Linked DNA regions of Homo sapiens: region 2 is linked to region 1. The links are contacts of gene promoters, found by promoter capture Hi-C in human tissues and cell types (Jung and others, 2019). All regions are on one chromosome and are shown on one strand. The core of a region is centred on a gene start or on the middle of the fragment in contact, and the rest is flanking DNA. Distances in the headings are between cores, read along the strand shown. Region 1 holds the start of PPP1R14D (protein phosphatase 1 regulatory inhibitor subunit 14D). Region 2 overlaps RAD51 (RAD51 recombinase).

Region 1 (6,949 bases), core at 3,226-5,725:
CAGGGTCCTTACTCCTGACCTCTCCACTAGGGAGACCAGCAATTAAATAAGGCTCAGATGAACCAACAATTTTTTTTCCTTTTTTTATAGAGGCAATCAAGTTAAACACAAATGTTTGTTTCACACATTCATTGACAATACTGTTTTTTTTTTTTTGAGATAGGGTCTTGCTTTGTCACCCAGGCTGGAGTGCAGTGGCACGATCATGGCTTACTGCAGCCTTGACCTCCCAGGCTCAAGCAATCCTCCCTCCTCAGCCTCCCAAGTGGTTGGAACCACAGGCACGCACCACCACACCCTGCTAATTTTTTGTATTTTTTTGGACAGGGTTTCACCATATTACCTATGCTAATCTCGAACTCTTGGACTCAGGCAATTTGCCCCTCTCAGCCTCCCAAAGTGCTGGGATCATAGACATGAGCCACTGTGCCCAGCTGACAATACTTTTTTTAAGTCAAAAGTTTAATAGAATTATTAAATTCTAATTAATAGAATTAAAATGTCACTATATCAAAAAGGAAGCTACAGGAAAGGAATGTTTCAAAACTCTGGGATGGTCAACAGTGTCCCTTGCTAATGTGAAGATTAGATTTACCCCCAAGGCAGTGACTGGTGACCTTGGCCAGAGCTCTCAAAAGAGTGGTGGAAACAGAAGCCGGATTCCAGTGGATTGAGTGATGACAGGCAGGGAAAAAGTAAATAAGGCTGTGAGTGTGGACAAGTCCTTTAAGGAGTTTGGCTCTAAAGTGACAAGAAATGGGGGATACCAGGCCAGGCGCGGTGGCTCATTCCTGTAATCCCAGCACTTTGGGAGGCTGAGGCGGGTGGGTCACCTGAAGTCAGTAGTTTGAGACCAGACTGGCCAACATGGTGAAACCTCATCTCTACTAAAAATACAAAAAATTAGCCAGGTGTGGTGGTCGGCGCCTGTAATCCCAGCTACTTGAAAAGCTGAGGCAGGAGAATCACTTGAACCTGGGAGGCGGAGGTTGCAGTGAGCCAAGGTCATGCCATTGTACTCCAGCCTGGGCAACAAGAGTGAAACTCTGTCTCAAAAAAAAAAAAAAGAAAGAAAGAAAGAAATAGAGGGGATGGTAACAAAAGGGGTGCATGTTGGGCAAGGGTCTCCATAAAATAGAAGAAACTCATGTGTGTTTAAGTCCCTGCTTAGAAGGCAAATCATGCTCTACCTCCGGACAACAGGAGCTCTAGGACCCCAAGTCTGCGTCCCCAGACTTGGTTCCTCTGAAGACCCCACACCAGGCTGCACATCCAGGGAGAAGAGGTAGGTCCCTCCAACAAACGAAGGTTGGTCCCAAGATATTAAACAAGTAGAGTGTTGTATCCTTAGATGCTTTCCCACTGCTGCTGTCTAAGGTGGGTATCTGGGGTAGAGCCCTGGTGGGTGGGCAGGGGCTCTCCGTAAACTGGAATGGAGCAGAGTAAGGCTGGAGACTGTGCTGTCTTGACCTCTGCCCAAGATGACCAACAACCTGGGGCTTCCCCAGCCACTTAACTGCTTCCTGCTGAAAAGAGCAGGGATTGGGAGAGAAACTGCCACCTGGCACCTTTGGACAATTACCATGGCAATCACAGGCCAGGCATTTTATTCCAGTCATTGCCTGGGAACGCTCCTTCCACATGTCTTGCTTTCTGTGTTACAGGCTTATTACTGTACAGCCTCCAGCCCTCCACTTTCATCTTGCAAAACAAGGTTCTTTCTTTGATGTCTGGAAGGATTTGCCCCGGAATGTCAGAAATTTGAGACTGTATGCAAGTGCACAATAAACAATCTGAAATTGAAACTGATCCAGTGGAGAGTGCTGGAATTAGGGAAGAGCAGTGGATATGTCCTGCGAGGTCAGAGCAGATACAGGCCAAGATAGTTTGCCTCCCAGCTCCAAGGGGTCTCCCTACCCTCAGTGAGTGGGCTTGGGAGGTAGATGCTTGGGATGCTGCATCTTTGGTCAATACCTTGACCAAACTGACACATGACCCAGTTAGTTTCGAGATAGACTGGGTCACAACAATCATTCTTCACCACCTGCAACCCTAGGACTGCTGATAACCCTTACCCACAGGAATTATAGGGCCCTGCTGCTCCAAAAAGATAGGATCTGAGTCAACAAGAAAGAGAAACAAGGACAACATATTTTGAACTCCTGACTAGCTTGGCGTATGGTTCTCAGCCCAGCCACACATTAGAACCAACTGTGGGGCTTTTAAAAAATGCCCAGTATCTGGACTCCACTGTAGTAGATTTAAATTCAGTTGAGGAGGAGCCAGGGCATCTGTTTTTTTTCTTAAGTATTTCAAGTGTGGAGAACCATTGGCTGCTCAAATAAGTGGCCAGGCTCCACACCTGGTCCCAAGGTTTCCTAGTTGTGTGACCTTGGGCAAGTTACTCAACATCTGTAAACCTCCATTCCCTCAGCTGTAAAGCAGTACCTGCTGGCCAGGCATGGTGGCTCACACCTGTAATCCCAGCATTTTGAGAAGCCAAGATTGGAGGATCGTTCGAGCCCAGGAGTTCAAGACCAACCTAGGCAACATAGCAAGATCTCATCTCTATAAAAAAAGAAAAACAGTACTTGCTTAATGGAGTTGTGGGAAGGATTAAATGAAAGAATGCATGTCAGTGCCTGGCATTGAGCCTAGCACGTAGTTGTGTTCAGAATGTTATTCTTATTGCTGGAACAGCAGTTCTTACCTCTCTAGAATCCAGGTTTAAAGGTATATAAGTAAGAAAGTGCCGTTTCCAGTAACCAGGGACCAAGACCTGTCCTTTTCCCAGAGTGGGGTTGAAGAGTGTTAGTCAGAGCCAGGGTCAAAGATTGCTTAGGTCCTGGTATTGGCACTCAACTTTGGTTACTCTTAACATTCTAGTCCCGCACTGTCCATTCTGAAATAACGAAAATATTCTATATTTGTGCTGACAACATAGTAGTCACTAGCCACATGGGGCTATTTAACACTTGAGATGTGGCCCATGTTGGCTGGGTGCGGTGGCTCACGCCTGTAATCCCAGCACTTTGGGAGGCTGAGGTGGGCAGATCACCTGAGGTCGAGAGTTCGAGACCAGCCTGACCAACATGGAGAAACCCCGTCTCTACTAAAAATACAAAATTAGTCGGGCACAGTGGCGCATGCCTGTAATCCCAGCTACTCGGGAGGCTGAGGCAGGAGAATCGCTTGAACTTGGGAGGCGGAGGTTGCAGTGAGCCAAAATCACGGCATTGCACTCCAGGCTGGTTTACAGAGTAAGACTGTCTCAAAAAAAGGCAAAAGAAAAAAGAAATGTGGCCCATGTGACTGGGGAACTGAATAATTTTATTTAATTATAACTCATTTAAAGTCAAACAGCTACACATGGCTGATGGCTACAGAATTGGAAAATGTAGCTCTAGGCTGGGCATGGTGGTGCACACCTGTAATCCCAGCACTTTGAGAGGCCGAGGCAGGCAGACTGTTTGAGCCAAGGAGTTCAAGACCAGCCTGGGCAACATGGTGAAAAGCCGTCTCTACAAAAAAAAATACAAAAAAATTTGCCAGGCGTGGTGGTGCGCACCTGTAGTCCCAGCTACTCAGGAGGCTGAAGTGGGAGGATGGCTTGAACCCAGCAGGCAGAGCAGTGAGCTGAGATTGCACTACTGCATTCCAGCCTGTGCAACAGGGCAAGACTTTGTCTCAAAAACAAACAAACAAACAAAAAACAAAAGAAAGAAAGAAAGAAAGAAACAAAGAAAAAGAAAAGAAACGAAAATGTAGCTCCGGACATGTATGTGCATTGAACATGGGAGTAAATAAAGATATAAAATTTTGAAACATAGTGTGACCAAGCATTTTCCCTTCTATTGTCTCATTTGAGCCTCAGAAAGTCCTATAAAGGAGATATGACAGGCACTAACAGCCCTATTATAGATTAGGGATGTTAAAAGACCTTCCCCAGATCACAAAGAGCATTAGAGGCACAGACAAGCCTAGAGGGAGGCAGACTTCTGGACTTCAAACCGATGCTTCTTTCTTTCATCAGTTACAAAAGCTTTCTCTTCACGGAAGCACCTCACATCAGCCCTCCAGCTCCTGTGAAGGTCTCAGTGCCCTGGGTGGACCCCAGGCCCCCATCTCCTCCCACTATCCGCTGTGCTACCTACCTGGAAGAGCTCCTGAACTTGAGCATCCACCCATTGCTCCATCTCCAGCCAGCGCTGGAGCTGGCCCCGGTCATACTTCACTGTCAGGCGGCTGGGTCTCCGGGACCTGGGTATCTTGGAGGAGTCCGGGTGGGACTTGGACTCTGAGTCTGTGGATGATGTCCTTCTCCTCCCAGAAGCCCAGTGGACCTTCTTACATGGGTTCTCCCCATCTGGGCTGGGAGATGTGCAGGAAGCAGGGCTTGAAGACAGCATGGAAGTATTGGTCTGGGCAAGGAGCTGGGAAAAACCGCCAGTTCTGAGCAGAGCCACAGAGGGAAGTGAGGAGACAGAGAACAGGAGAGGCCAGCAGAGAAGAAATGAAGGCAGGAGGAGGGCCAAGGCTCCCAGGGAGGGGCAAGGGCAAAGATCAATAGGACTTTGGTGCTGGGAATGCCAGTCTCCTGGCTCCTCACTGCCAGCCAGTGAGTGGCACTCCAGAGCCATGCCCCAGCCTCCCTTTCTGCAGCTTCTAGGGCCCAAAGTGGCATAAACTGCAGATGAGCAAAGGTCAAGAGGCTGCCATGCCCAGGGAGGAGGAAGGGGCCCTGGGGTCCTGAAGGGTACAGGGCTCCAATCGCTGCTCTATGGCCAGCTCTGGAATGGGACCTGAGTCGTTCTCACCTGAGATCCCTCTGTATCCCACCTTCCTGGGGCTGGATCCACTCTGGGCTCTGAGAAGCTGTGGTCAGATTCCGCAGAAGCAGGGTCCCTGGCTGGCAGGGATTCTTACTCAGAGCGTAGCACTACTGGGGGCAGAGCCCCAGCTGGTAGATAGAGTTGGAGGTCAGTTATTGATGGCTCCCGTAGGACCAGTGCCCCCAGTGTCTGGGTGTGTCCGAATGTAAACTGCTATCAGCCTGGCCTATAAAGGCAGTTTACCTGCTTGTAAAGGCAAATTTATCAAGACTTGTCTACTATGCCCGCTCCCCTGAGGCAACTGCTTAGGAAGCCATGTTTATTACCACGTGACCCTCCCCCGATTCATGTATTTGCTGACACAGAGGAAACCTGCAAACCTAACTTATACACAGGTGTCAGGGACTAATACTTCCAGGCATACATACTTGCATTCTAAGGCAGGGTATTTTTGTTTAGTCTTTTATAATGAAAATTTCTAAACTTTAAAAAAAAAAAGTGACAGAAGAACACTGTAATTTTTTTTTTTTTTTTTTTGAGATGGAGTCTCGCACTGTCACCCAGGCTGGGGGGCAATGCTGCGATCTTGGCTCACTGCAACATCCGCCTCCCAAGTTCAAGCAATTCTCCTGCCTCAGCCTCCCAAGAAGCTGGGATTACAGGCGCCCACCACCATGCCCGGATAATTTTTTGTATTTTTAGTAGAGACGAGGTTTCACTATGTTGCCCAGGCTGGTCTCAAATGCCTGACCTCATGATCCACCCGCCTCGGCCTCCCAAAGTGGTGGGATTACTGGAGTGAGCCACCGTGCCCAGCCTGTAATTTTTTTAAAATGGGGCCAGGCATGGTGGCTCACGCCTGTAATCCCAGCACTCTGGGAGGCCGAGGCGCGTGGATTGCTTGAGCTCAGGAGTTCAAGACCAGCCTGGGCAAAATGGTGAAATTCTCTCTCTACCAAAAAAAAAAATAATAATAATACAAAAAATTAGCTGCTTTGGGAGACCCAGGCGGGAAGATTGCTTGAGGCCAGTAGTTCAAGACCAGTCCGGGCAACACAGTGAGATCTTGTCTCCATTAAAAAATGTAAACAATGGGCCAGGCACGGTGGCTCATGCCTGTAATCCCAGCACTTTGGGAGGCTGAGGTGGACAGATGACTTGAGGTCAGGAGTTTGAGATCAGCCTGGCCAACATGGCAAAACCCTGTCTCTACTAAAAATACAAAAATTAGCCGGGCGTGGTGGCACACGTCTGTAGCCCCAACTATTCAGGAGGCTGAGGGAGGAGAATCGCCTGGGCCCAGGAGGCGGAGGTTGCAGTGAGCCGAGATCATGCCACTGCACTCCAGCCTGGGTGACAGAGCAAGACCCCGTCTCAAAAAAAAAAAAAAAAAAAAAGTAAAAAATGAAAAGCAAGATTACTCAGATATGGTGGTGCACACCTGTCATCCTAGCTGCTTGGAAGGTGGGAAAATCACTTCAGCCCAGGAGTTCAAGGCTACAGTGAGCTACAATGGCAACACTGCACTTAAGCATGGGTGACAGAGCAAGACCCTGTCTCAAAAAAGGAAAAAGGCGAATGGATGACAGTTTAATGATGAAATTTTAGGCCCTCACTTAAGAAGATAAGGGAGGTGTTTGAGTGGCTGGAAACTAAGATGGCAGCCAGGAAAAGCCCAGGCTTTGGAGGAAGGCTGACAATCTGAGTTCAACTCAGCTTTGCCCTGCATTGGTTTTATAATCCTTGGCCAAGTTTCATAGCCTGTTTTCACATCTGCAGATTGGGCTTGTTGGGAAGATAAAATGAGATGATGCATGTAAACATTTAGCATGGCATCTGAAACAGAGTCCCTGTCAGTAGACATTCATTCCTGTCCTTTATTTACCTCCCCACTCTCCCTGCCCTCCTGGCGAGGCTCTGGTGGTCAATGCCTGGGCTTTCATCAGTGTGGCTCTCTTCCTGAGCAGGAGGAGGGGGGCCTCTAGGATGCATCTTGTTGACTCAGCTGTCACTTTAACAGTCTGTGGCCAGGAGGCATTATTATGGTAGTTCCCTGCCTCTTCTGTTTCCTATCTTCTGAAGGGTTTGAGAGCCCTTTCGGGAAAAGAAACTAGATG
Region 2 (6,949 bases), core at 1,577-4,076, 120 kb before region 1:
CATGCCACTAGCCTGACCATTTCTACCAGTTTTGTCTTTGCTAATACATTCTCCTGTTTTTCACCAAAGGAAGTAGTCTATATTCCTTGAGCTCCCATGGCTTGTTAGTACTTCTCATATTACCCATCACATCTACTTGTACTATAGTTATTTTGTATAGTTTATCTTTCTGATTAAGTTATAAGCTCTGTGGAGGCAGGAATCAGCTCTTCTTTTTCTCCATATCCTTCAGAGTCCCTGGGACTATGTTTCATACGAAGTAAGTGTCTAGTACATGTTTGTTGCACTGAAATGACAGTGAGTATATGAATTGGCCAGGCTGGTCTCAAAATCCTGGCCTCAGGTAATCCGCCCATCTCAGTATCCCAAAGTGCTGGGATTACAGGCGTGAGCCACTGCACCTGGCCGTGCAATGAATTTTTAAATGAAATATTAAGTATATAGAAAAGTTTAGAGAATAAACTTTCATTGATTTTTCAGCTATTTGTTGATTTTTTTTCTTCATGGGAAATTTAAACATTATGAAAGTTTAATCTTTTTACTTTCTATGGGTCTATTTAGATTTTCTTCTTGAGTGAGTTTTGGTAGTTTATCTTTCTAAGAATTTGCTTATTTCATCTAAGTTACCTAACTTGTTGACATAGAGATGCTCACAGGGTTTCCTTATACTACTTTTTATTTACATAAAGTCAGTAGTAATGTCCCCTCTTTCATTCTTGATTTTAGTAATTTGAGTCTTTTCTCTTTTTTTCTCGGGCAATGCAGCTAAAAGTTTGTCAATTTTGTTGATATTTTCAAAGAACCAGCTTTTGGTTTCATTGATTTTTCTCTATTATTCTGCCCTCTACTTAATAGTTTCTACCCTAACCTGTATTATTTCCATCTTTCTGCTTGCTTTGTTTTGTTTGCTTTTCTTTGGAAGGTTAGGTTATGATTTATCTTTTTTATTTTTAGAGGCAGAGTCTTGTTCTGTCACTTACGTTGGAGTGCAGTGGTGTGATCATAGCTCACTGCAGCCTCCAACTCCTGGCTCAAACAAACCTTCTGCCTCAGCCTCCCAGGTAACTAGGACCACAGGCACGCCCCACCATGCCCTGCTATTTATTTTATTTTATTTTATTTTTGAGACGGAGTCTCCCTCTGTGCCCAGGCTGGAGTGCAGTGGCGTGATCTCTGCTCACTGCAACCTCTGCCTCTTGGGTTCAAGCGATTCTCCTGCCTCAGCCTCCTGAGTGGCTGGGATTACAGGCACGTGCCGCCATGCCCAGCTAATTTTTAGTAGAGACAGGGTTTCACCGTGTTAGCCAGGATGGTCTTGATCTCCTGACCTCATGATCTGCCTGCCTCAGCCTCCCAAAGTGCTGGGATTACAGTCGTGAGCCACCGCGCCAGGCCTTTTTTTTTTTTTTTTCTGATGCAGTCTCACTCTCTTGCCCAGGCTGGAGTGCGGTGGTGTGATCTCGGCTCACTGCAACCTCCGCCGCCCGGGTTCAAGCAGTTCTCCTGTTTCAGCCTCCTGAGTAGTTGGGACTACAGGCGCACGCCACCACGCCCAGCTATTTTTTGTATTTTTAGTAGAAATGGGGTTTCACCATATTGGGCAGGCTGGTCTTGAACTCCTGACTTCGTGATCTGCCCACCTCACCCTACCAAAGTGCTGGGATTCAGGCATGAGCCACCATGCCCAGCCATGCCCTACTAATTTTTTTTTTTTTTTTTGAGATGGAATCTCGCTGTGTCTCTCAGGCTGGAGTGCAGTGGTGCAAATTCAGCTCACTGCAACCTCCGCCTCCCAGATTCAAGTGATTCTTCCACCTCAGCCTCCCGAGTAGCTGGGACTACAGGCGCGTGCCACCACGCCCGGCTAATTTTTGTATTTTTAGTAGAGAGGAAGTTTCACCATGTTGGTCAGGCTGGTCTTGAACTCCTGACCTTGTGATCTGCCCACCTCAGCCTCCCAAAGTTCTGAGATTACAGAGGTGAGCCACCACACCCAGCCACCCTGCTAATTTTAAAACATTTTTAGAGCCAGGGTGCTGCTTTGTTACTCAGGCTGGTCTCAAACTCCTGGCTTCCAGCAGTCCTCCCACCTCAGCCTCCCAAAGTGCTGGGATTACAGGTGTGATTCACCACACCCAGCCTTCTTTTCTAATATAGCTGTTTATAGCTATGAATTTCTCTCTAAGCACTGCTTTTCTTGGAGCCCATACGTTTTGGTATATCTTCGTTTTCATTCATTGCAAAAACATTTTCTGATTTCCCTTGTCATTTCTTCTTTGACTTGTTGCTTATTTAGGAGTGTGTTGCTTTATTTTTGCATATTTGTGAATGCACTTACTTTTCAATTTTAGAATCAACCCATAGTGCTATTACAGAACACTTATCTGTAATTACAAAATAGAATGTGAATGTTCTCAGCCAGACAATATGAAAGAAAAGGTACAGCTGATAGAGGTGGGGAAGTAGCCATGGAGAGAGAAAAGATTGAAGGGCAAATGTCCTCATTTTTACAAAGTAGGAAGTTAAGGGATACAGTCTGCGGTTGATGGAGCAGGAAATGAAGGTGTACTGTATTGTCATTTTTGTCATAAATTGGGCAAAACACATATGTACGGATCTCTAATAGTTTTTTGTTTTGTTTTGTTTTGTTTTTTGAGACAGAGTCTCGCTCTGTCCCCCAGGCTGGAGTACAGTGGCGCGATCTCGGCTCACTGCAAGCTCCGCCTCCCGGGTTCACGCCTTTCTCCTGCCTCAGCCTACCAAGTAGCTGGGACTTCAGGCACCCGCCACCACGCCCGACTAATTTTTTGTATTTTTTTAGTAGAGATGGGGTTTCACCATGTTAGCCAGGATGGTCTCGATCTCCTGACGTTGTGATCCGCCTGCCTTGGCCTTCCAAAGTGCTGGGATTACAGGCGTGAGCCATCGCACCCGGCCGGATCTATAATAGTTTTTAAAACTATATTAATATATTAACTTGAATTGGCAATTTAAAAATTGATCTTCATGGAATCTCTGAATTAGATTATCCTTTTTTATGACTTTCTAAAGAGAAATCATCCTGGTAATTTTATTTGATATTTTCTCTTCCCATTGCACACCTTGTTTTACTAATATTTCTTTTTTCTTTATATATATTTTTTTGCCATCAAGATCACTGTGGTAAGGAATATTATTTTGTTGATTTAATATTTCTTATTTTTCCCAGGCTGAGGCAGCTAAATTAGTTCCAATGGGTTTCACCACTGCAACTGAATTCCACCAAAGGCGGTCAGAGATCATACAGATTACTACTGGCTCCAAAGAGCTTGACAAACTACTTCAAGGTGTAGTAATCCTTTATCCTGTGTTGTGAACTCTAGTTAGGAAAGCTTCCAGGTTATAAAACAAAACTGAAATATTTGTGTAGCATTTCCTTGTTAGATAATGATAAAGAGATAGAGGAAGGCCAGGTGCAGTGGCTTATGCCTGTAATCTCAGCACTTTGGGAGGCTGAGGTGGGCAGATCACCTGAGGCTGGGAGTTCGAGACCAGCCCAGCCAACATGGAGAAACCTATTAAAAATACAAAATTAGTTGGGCATGGTGGCACATGCCTGTAATCCCTGTAGGTGCACATGCCTACTCGGGAGGCAGAGGCAGGAGAATCACTTGAACCCGGAAGACGGAGGTTGCTGTGAGCCAAGATTGTGCCACTGCACTCCAGCCTGGGTGACGAGCAAAACTCTGTCTCAAAAACAAAGAGAGATAAAGGAAGTATCCACATTGAAGAGGTAAGACTGCTGCAAGGTAGGACCTTATTTATAAAATACTAAACTTATCTGCAAATTAAATAATTTAGTCTCCATTTAATATTGTGTTAAGAGAGTAAGCTCCTTTTGCTTAAGGAGGTAACTGTAATTATAACCTACTCTACCACAGGGTTGAAAACCTGATGACTGGTTAAAACATTCCATGTTTGAATACTACTCATTGTGTACACACTAATCTTCAGGACTTCAGGGAAAACTATAAAGCTTTTGACCTTATTATTTATTTTTCGAGACAGGGTCTCACTCTGTCACCCAGGCTGGAGTGCAGTGGCATGGTCTCAGCTCACTGCAACCTCTGCTTCCTGGGCTCAAGTGATCTTCTAGCCTCAGTCTCCCCAAGCTAGGACTATGATCATTTACCACCTGGCTAATTTTTTTTTTTTTTTTTTTTTTTTTTGAGTCGGGGCATCACTCATTATGTTGCCCAGGCTGGTCTCAAAATCCTGAGCTCAAGCCATCCTCCTGCCTCAGCCTCCCAAAGTGCTGGGATTATAGGCTTGAGCCACCTTGCCTGGCCCAATGTCAGTTTTCTTTCCCTTTTTTTTGAGACAGAGTCTCACTCTGTTACCCAGGCTGGAGTGCAGTGGCATAATCTCAGCTCACTGCAACCTCCGCCTCCTGGGTTCAAGTGATTCTCCTGCCTCAGCCTCCCAAGTAGCTGGGACTACAGGCAAGTGCCACCATGCCCAGCTAATTTTTGTATTTTTAGTAGAGATGAGGTTTCACCACGTTGGCTAGGTTGGTCTCGAACTCCTGACCTCAGATGATCTACCCGCCTCAGCCTCCCAAAGTGCTGGGCTTACAGGCGTGAGCCATCATGCCTGGCCCCCAATGTCAGTTTTCTAATATCAGTGCTATACTATCATTATGCAAGAGGTTAACACTGCAGAAGGCTAGGTGCATAGAAATTTCGTATGTTTTTTTTTGTTGTTGTTGGTTTGTTTGTTTGTTTTTTAAAGACAGAGTCTTGCTCTGTTGCCCAGGCTAGAATGCAGTGGCACAATCTCGGCTCATTGCAACCACTGACTCCCAGGTTTGAGCAGTTCTCCTGCCTCAGTCTCCTGAGTAGCTGCAATGACAGGCACCCGCCACCGTGCCTGGCTAATTTTTGTATTTTTAGTAGAGACGGGATTTCACCGTCTTGGCCAGGCTGGTCTCAAAGTCCTGACCTCCTGATCCATCCACCTCGGCCTCCCAAAGTGCTGGGATTACAGGCATGAGCCACTGTGCCCAGCTTTTTTTTTTTTTTTTTTTTTTGAGATGGGGTCTTGCTATGTCACCCCGGCTGGAGTGCAGTGGCATGATCTTGGCTCACTGCCACTTCCGCCCCCAGGTTCAAGCTATTCTTCTGCCTCCGCCTCCCGAGTAGCTGGGACTACAGGCATGCACCACCATGCCCAGCTAATTTTTGTATTTTTAGTAGAGACAGGGTTTCACCATATTGTGCCCAGCTTTTTTTTTTTTTTTTTTGAGGAGTCTCACTTTGTCACCCAGGCTGGAGTGCAGTGGCGTGATCTCGGCTTGCTGCAGCCTCCGCCTCCCAGGTTCAAGTGATTCTCCTGCTTCAGCCTGCTAGTAGCTGGGATTACAGGTGCCCATCACCAGTTCCAGCTAAGTTTTGTATTTTTAGTAGACATGAGGTTTCACCATGTTGGCCAGGCTGGTCTCGAGCTCCTGACCTCAGGTGATCAGCCCGCCTCGGCCCCCTAAAGTGCTGGGATTACAGGTGTGAGCCACCGCACCTGGCCTTATTTGCAGCTATCTATAAATCTAATTATTTCAAAATACTTTTGGTTTATTTGTTTGTTTGTTTGTTTGTTTTGAAACAGGGTCTCACTGTGTCACCCAGGCTAGAGTGCACTGGCACGATTTTGGCTCACTGCAACTTCTGCCTCCCAGGCTCAAGTGATCCTCTCACCTTAGCTCCTGAGTAGCTGGTACTACAGGCATCCGCCACCATGCCCGGCTAATTTTTGTAGAGACAGGGCTTCACCATGTTGCCCAGGCTGGTCTCGAACTCCTGAACTCAAGCAATCCACCCACCTAAGCTTCCTAAAGTGCTGGGATTACAGGCATGAGCCACCACGGCTAGCCTCAAAATACATTTGTGAAAAATTATCGCTTGTTGGAAATTGAATTTTTAACTTACATAAACATCTTTCTGATGAGCTCCAAGAACATTTCTATGACTACAGTTTCTACATGTTTGTATTATGCTAAGAGTTATTTCTTATCGCTTTTTTAGGTGGAATTGAGACTGGATCTATCACAGAAATGTTTGGAGAATTCCGAACTGGGAAGACCCAGATCTGTCATACGCTAGCTGTCACCTGCCAGGTGAGCTGTTGGGGCTATAGCTAATCAAATAAGCAAGCATTACTTCATTCCTGCTATTTGCAAGCATCTGTTAGGATGGCCATAAAAGGTACTTTCTCTGTCCTCAAGAATCTTATAGCTGTTAATAGTTAGAAGATAGACTCCTACTTCAAAATCCTTCCATGTCATAGAAACTTCCAAATCATTGATCTCCTATCAGATACGTTAATTTCAAATACTTTTGCTACCAGGCCTTTTCCTGGCTTTACTTGCTACTTTTTTTTTTTTTTTTTTTTTTTGAGGCAGAATCTCGCTGTGTCGCCCAGGCTGAAGTACAGTGGTGTGATCTCAGCTCACTGCAACCTCCTCTCTGGTTCAAGTGATTCTCCTTCATCAACCTCCCGAGTACCTGGGATTACAGGCGCCCACCAGCATGCCCGGCTAATTTTTGTGTTTTTAGTAGAGAGGGGGTTTCACCATGTTGGCCAGGCTCCTCTTGAACTCCTGATCTCAAGTGATCCACCCACCTTGGCCTCCCAAGTGCTGGAATTATAGGCGTAAGCCACTGCGCCCAGCCCTCCATCTTCTTCATTAGTCTAGATTTTATGATTCATCATTAAAGTAATTCTCTTGCAGATAGCCTCAGTTTACATACCCACTTGAAGAGATGCCAACCTTAGATGAAACTCATCTATCTTCTCAGTGTCTGTACCCAAATAGCTGATTATACTGGAGAAAAATCGTATCATACAGCTGACTGACTTCACTTTAAATTCAAGATGACAGGCCAGGCACGGTGGCTCACGCCTGTAATCCCAGTAC

Evidence for each region. Contacts are between HindIII fragments. The study calls those that stand out against the background at their distance.
Region 2: a fragment that was not itself captured here is called in contact with the fragment with the promoter of PPP1R14D in region 1 in 3 of the 25 tissues and cell types used here (aorta, heart left ventricle and lymphoblastoid cells).

What each region holds. Positions count from the first base shown.
Region 1 is chr15:40,824,233-40,831,181 of GRCh38, forward strand. PPP1R14D (protein phosphatase 1 regulatory inhibitor subunit 14D) reads right to left here and starts at 4,476. Exons shown (of 4, transcript NM_017726.8): 1 at 4,155-4,476. The coding sequence starts at 4,409. RefSeq lists enhancers at 982-1,482, 1,483-1,983, 1,979-2,273 and a silencer at 1,979-2,273. The HindIII fragment of the contact is 14,686 bases long and covers 1-6,949 here.
Region 2 is chr15:40,702,969-40,709,917 of GRCh38, forward strand. It overlaps RAD51 (RAD51 recombinase), which reads left to right. Exons shown (of 10, transcript NM_002875.5): 4 at 3,209-3,326; 5 at 6,057-6,148. Among named protein-coding and RNA genes, the nearest start is that of RAD51, 11 kb to the left of the region's middle. The HindIII fragment of the contact is 4,221 bases long and covers 717-4,937 here.